2 separate regions of the Homo sapiens genome follow, and region 2 is linked to region 1. The links are contacts of gene promoters, found by promoter capture Hi-C in human tissues and cell types (Jung and others, 2019). All regions are on one chromosome and are shown on one strand. Each heading gives the region's core, a stretch centred on a gene start or on the middle of the fragment in contact. The rest is flanking DNA. Distances are from core to core; before and after follow the strand shown. Region 1 holds the start of CR1 (complement C3b/C4b receptor 1 (Knops blood group)). Region 2 overlaps CR1L (complement C3b/C4b receptor 1 like).

Evidence for each region. Contacts are between HindIII fragments. The study calls those that stand out against the background at their distance.
Region 2: a fragment that was not itself captured here is called in contact with the fragment with the promoter of CR1 in region 1 in 1 of the 25 tissues and cell types used here (aorta).

The regions. Positions count from the first base shown.
Region 1 is chr1:207,494,777-207,497,476 of GRCh38, reverse strand. It overlaps CR1 (complement C3b/C4b receptor 1 (Knops blood group)), which reads right to left and starts at 1,320. Exons shown (of 47, transcript NM_000651.6): 1 at 1,089-1,320. The coding sequence starts at 1,209. The HindIII fragment of the contact is 14,814 bases long and covers 1-2,700 here.
Region 2 is chr1:207,682,129-207,684,891 of GRCh38, reverse strand. CR1L (complement C3b/C4b receptor 1 like) reads right to left here. Exons shown (of 12, transcript NM_175710.2): 4 at 935-1,020. Among named protein-coding and RNA genes, the nearest start is that of CR1L, 38 kb to the right of the region's middle. The HindIII fragment of the contact is 6,489 bases long and covers 1-2,763 here.

The sequences.
Region 1 (2,700 bases), core at 71-2,570:
TGTAAAATGTCTAGTGGCAGAGAAGGGCGAACCCGGAGTTGTCAGGAATAGGCTGGACAAAAACAACCAAGACTGTCACTTCAAATGAGATGTTGCCAGTGAGTCTAGGCAACCAAGAAGACTTCTGGGGAGCCGAAAAATAATAATAGAAGGGTTCTAACTGAAGATGTTTACCTATTTGAAGTTAAGAAAAAGGAAGAGATGTGGCCTCAAAATTTCCATAATAATTATAATAGGCGTTATTTTGTACTAAACACATCACTAAAATGCGAACTGTAAACATATCTACTGTCCCTTCTACCTGCAACGGTTACATTGCATGTTCTGGGGCTTCCCTTGCTCTTCTAATCCGCAAGTGCCTGGCATGCATCTGTCTTAAAGTATGCTGTCAATTAAGTGCATGGTGATGATGGCCGTGGTGGCTTGGTGTGGGGGGCGAGGACAGTTCCATGCGGGGCAGTTGTCAGGTAACACCTGCATCCCTAGGACTGCTTGTCTAAACACCATTGGGAGCAAAGTACAGAGGTAACGGTTGGGGGATAGAAATGGACTCGGGGACACATAGCCCTGTGTTAGATACTCGACAGGCTTAATGCCACTGAGGCAGCAACTCCACGATGCAGAGATACCAGTGTCCCCATTTTACAGAAGAGCAAACAGACTCAGGTGTGCTAAGTTGCCTCACAGTTAAGTTTCTAGGACCAGAACTCAGGTTTGTCGGATCCCCAAGTTCCCTTTCACTAGGATCAACGCCACGTCTTGGCTATAGCCAGCCGAGGCTGTGAATACACAAAGGCAAGGAATTTCGTGCGGCACCCGCTCAGCATCTGCGCCTTCCACTGCGCTCGTCACGACTTAAGCCCCTGCACCTGGGAACTCCACGCTTACCCAGAAGCAGCGAGGGTCTCCAGTGCGCAGAAGGATCCTACACCCGCCGCCCTGCCGGGTCGCGCGCTCAGCCCACCCATCGCGCTGCCTTCGGACCCGGGCGCGCAGAGCAGCGCAGCTCAGCGCTGCACGCGAGTTCTCTGCGGGGCCCCGGGTTCCTCGTCCGCCCGGGCGCCTCCCCACGCCCGCCCGCCTCTCACCCCAGGCCACCGGCAGCGCAAGCAGCACCACAACCGCCAGCAGGGATCCTCCGCAGCAGAAGGGGAGACCGGGCGCCGGCGGCCCGACAGGCTCCGGGCTTCTTGGAGAAGAGGCCCCCATTCTCCCCAAGCACATCTACAAACCAGATTTGATCTCGAAGAAAACTGAAATAAGAGGAAAAGCTCAGCGAAAATAGGAGTGACCAATCATTGTGCTCCGCGCCCAGAGTGTGGGGAGGGCTGCGGGGTTCCGGGACAAAATGCTTTTGACCACAGCTTCCCCTTCATGGGCGAGGTCATGTTTACTCCCCATTTGCATTGTTTCTAACGAGTTTCGCTGGCAGAGCCCACCTTGCTGACCCAGGTGCAGCAGCAGAGCTTGACAATGCTCGGGCTTCCGATGGATCCCGCGTGTGAGGCCCTGCGCTTCCAGACAAAGGCGGTGGATGATGGCAGCTCGCCTCCAAACACCCTGCTTAACTTTTCCTCTTTGCAAGAATGTGTGTGGGAAGGTCAGCTAATGAAATGCCTGCTCTCCGTGTTGAAGGGCAATTGCAGGCGATGTGTACGGTGTACAGGGAATGTGAAGAAACAATTTCCTTACCCTGAATTGAGACGTCATGCCATTGTAAGATTTTTTAAAAGGGAGGGACAATTAGATACACATTTAAAAAATGTAAATCTGTGTATAGTATGGAAGGTAGATTAGAATAGGGCAATAATGGACTGCGAAGACCAGTCAGGGGAGCTTTTGCCGACATCCAAGTGAGGTTTGATGGCGGCCCTGACTGGGTGGATAAAGTGGACAATTAACAAAGATATTGGAGATGGAATGAACAGTTGCTCATGTATTGGATTTTGGTTACTTCCTTTCTTAAGGTTGGTGGTGAGAAGAAAGCAATCAAGAGTTAGCCCCCTTGCGGTAGTTTGCTGAGAATGATGGTTTCCAGCTTCCACAATGAGAACACATGGACACAGGAAGAGGAACATCACACACCGGGGCCTGTTGTGGGGTGGGGGGAGGGGGGAGGGATAGCATTAGGAGATATACCTAATGTAAAGGACGAGTTAATGGGTGCAGCACACCAACGTCGCACATGTATGCATATGTAACAAACCTGCACGTTGTGCACATGTACCCTAAAACTTAAAGTATAATAAAAAAAAGAAACAAAAAAAAGAAAAAAGAAAGAAATAATTAAATAATTAAGTTTAAAAAAGGTAGAAAAAATAATATTTTATCTTTTTTATTGGGGGTGGCCTGTCCTTCTGACATGTACTGCCTGCCTGTAGGTAGGCTATTTTGCCTGGGTTTTTCTCTTAAAATAATTTTGACTTTAAACCTTGATTTTGTTGTTGTTGTTGTTGTTGTTGCTAATTTTATGTTAAACTTGTTTTCCTTAACCATTAAAAGGAGACATGATTCAGAAAAGAAAAAAAAAAAAGAGTTAGCCCCAGGATTAGAAATGAATGGTGGTGCTACTTACTGAAATAAGAAGTATGGATGTAGGACTGACAGATTTAGGGCAGAGGGTTAAGTATTCAAGGATGAATGTATTCCTCCTATCTATCTGTGATCCTGTGCCCTTTAACCAATCTCTCTCCATCTCCC
Region 2 (2,763 bases), core at 78-2,577, 190 kb before region 1:
CAAGAAGAAAAGTAAAGAAGTCCCCAAGTTATCCAAAGAGAAGAGTAAGACAAAGATGTTATACACTGCATTTCTCTCAGCCTCAGCCTGGCCCTCACTACATAGGTGTATTTTTTTTTAATAAAATGAGATCTTGCCATATATGCCGTTCATCTGATTCTTTTTCCACATAAAACACATCTCTTTCTAGTCATTAAGTGCTTCTTTATGCTATCATTTTTTATGGCTGAATACCATGCCAGTGTATGGATATACTTATTTTCATTCTGCATAGCTATTTCATGTTTCTTAGGGAATTCTTTGTAATGGTCATTTGAACACATCTTTTTCCTACTAGTAGATTATTTCCAAACCATAGTTTAAAATATTTAGGTTACTCTAACATTTTAACTAATATAAATAATGCTGCAATGAAAAGTTTATACCAAACTGCTTTAAAAAGTGTGTGATTATTTCCTAAGTATAAATTCTAAGAAGTAGGTTAAAATACATGCCCACTTCTGAGGTTTATAGTGCATGGGGCCTTTCAAGAGGATGTGTTGATCTCGTGGTACATGAGAGTCCAGGTTCTTCCACAGCTTCGCTAACCTTGAAGAGTATCAATTTTTAAAATCTTTACTGATTTGCCAAGCAGGATGATTATTATACTGGAGGTGGTAGAACCAACATAATTTCAAGTTTATTGAAGTAAAATCAAGTTTGAAGCCTTTTACGTATTTAGGCCCCTAGAATTAGAAAAGACACATCCCAGGATAAGAAAGAACTTAAAGAAAGAGTTGCCAGGAACCCCATAGGAATATCTGAGAACATTATGGCTGTCTTCAGCCATGTGAAGTACAGATTGCACAGAAGGAATTCGGTTAAGATTTTTATTATTCCAGAGAAAAATTAGAATGTATCGGTAAAAGAAATAGGAATGCATATTTCAACTCACTGTCACAAACAGGTGTTTTATTATCCCAAATGACAGTGTTGCCTGAGATGATGCATGTGGCAGACGAGGAACCAATGAGTCGGTATCTAGAGGCAAAAAATAAGGAATGTTACATTCTAAATACACAGGTCAACTACCCAATTAAATTACTACTTCCAGAGATTACACTCTTATAGAATTCAGAGGGACATTTTCCACTTGTCAAAGAATTGTCTATCACCTTCCCAAATTTCACATTCTTGGGACTTTGTCATTTTCTCTTCCATGCCTTCTCAGTTGGATGGGATTTCTCTTTTTTATTATCTTATGACACATTTTTATATAAATCAAAGATGAGTTACAGTTTTTCCTATAAATTTCATTTTTTTAAAAGACAACACAAGCTTCTTGAGTGCAGGGAAGCTGTCATATATATACATATGTATGTGTGTATGTAGTCCTGTTGTATGTATTTCTATGCCTTATAAGTATTAATATATGGATGCATGGATGGGCTTTTATCAGTAAGATTCATCTAAGTAGGCCATTCACAGTGGCTCACGCCTGTAATCCCAGCACGTTTGGAGGCTGAGGTAGGAGGACTGCTTGAGCTCAGGAGTTCGAGAGAAGCCTGGGCAACATAGTGAGACCCTGTCTCAACAAAAATTTTATTAAAAAGCCACGCATGGTGGCACATTCCTGTAGTCCTAGCTACTCAGAAGGCTGAGGCAGGAAGATCGCTTGAGCCTGGGAGATTGAGGCTGCAGTGAGTGTTGATCATGCCACTGCACTCCAGTCTGGGCAATAAAGCAAGACCTTGTCAGTAGGAAAGAAAGGGGCGGGGTAGAGAGAGAGAGAGAGTCAGAGGGAGAGAGAGAGAGAAAGAGAAAGAGAGAAAGAAAGAAAGAGAAAGAAAGAAAGAAGGAAGGAAGGAGGGAAGGAAGGAAGGAAGGAAAGAAAGAAAGAAAAAGAAAGAAAGAAAGAAAAAAAGAAAGAAAGAAAGAAAGAAAGAAAGAAAATGATTTATAACTAGAACCAAAGGCAATCCAAGCTGACCAAAAAGAACTGAACACTTATTTTATACTTAAAATGTTAAAGTTAGCAATTCTCAATTAGTATGTCTCAAACTGTTCAAAGTGTGCCATAAATTTGGAAGAATTTATAACATTTATTTTACTTCACCTGAGACCCTCTGTTGTGATAGATGGTTGGGCCAAACTAGTCATAGTGAGGGTAGGCTCAAACTTGATAGTACTATACATGAATGAAGCAATGTCAAGTAACAGTCATGGTTATTGGAATGGCTGAGAACTTTGTTTTACAAATATGTAGGAAAACCTGGCAGCATAAAGCTTTATTCAAACAACGAAACAGTGCCAAATGGAGATCAAATGAATAGTGAGACAACAGTGGGTCCTTCTGCAGACACTTGACACATTGTTACATTATAGTAGCTATTATGTTGTAATTATTAGTGACTTCGATATCATTTTGGTTATTTATTATTATTATTATTTTTGAGATAGAGTTTCACTCTTGTCGCCCAGGCTGGAGTGCAATGTCACTGCAACCTCCACCTCCCAGATTCAAGTGATTCTCCTGCCTCAGCCTCTCAAGTAGCTGGGATTACAGGTGCACGCCACTATGCCTGGCTAATTTTTGTATTTTTAGTAAAGACGGGGTTTCATCATGTTGACTAGGGTGGTCTTGAATTCCTGACCTCAGGTGATTTCTCCCACCTCAGCCTCCCAAAGTGCTGGGATTACACGCATGAGCCACTGCGCCTGGACTCATTTTGTTTTTTAAAATTAATTAATCAATTAATTAATTTTTATTATACTTTAAGTTCT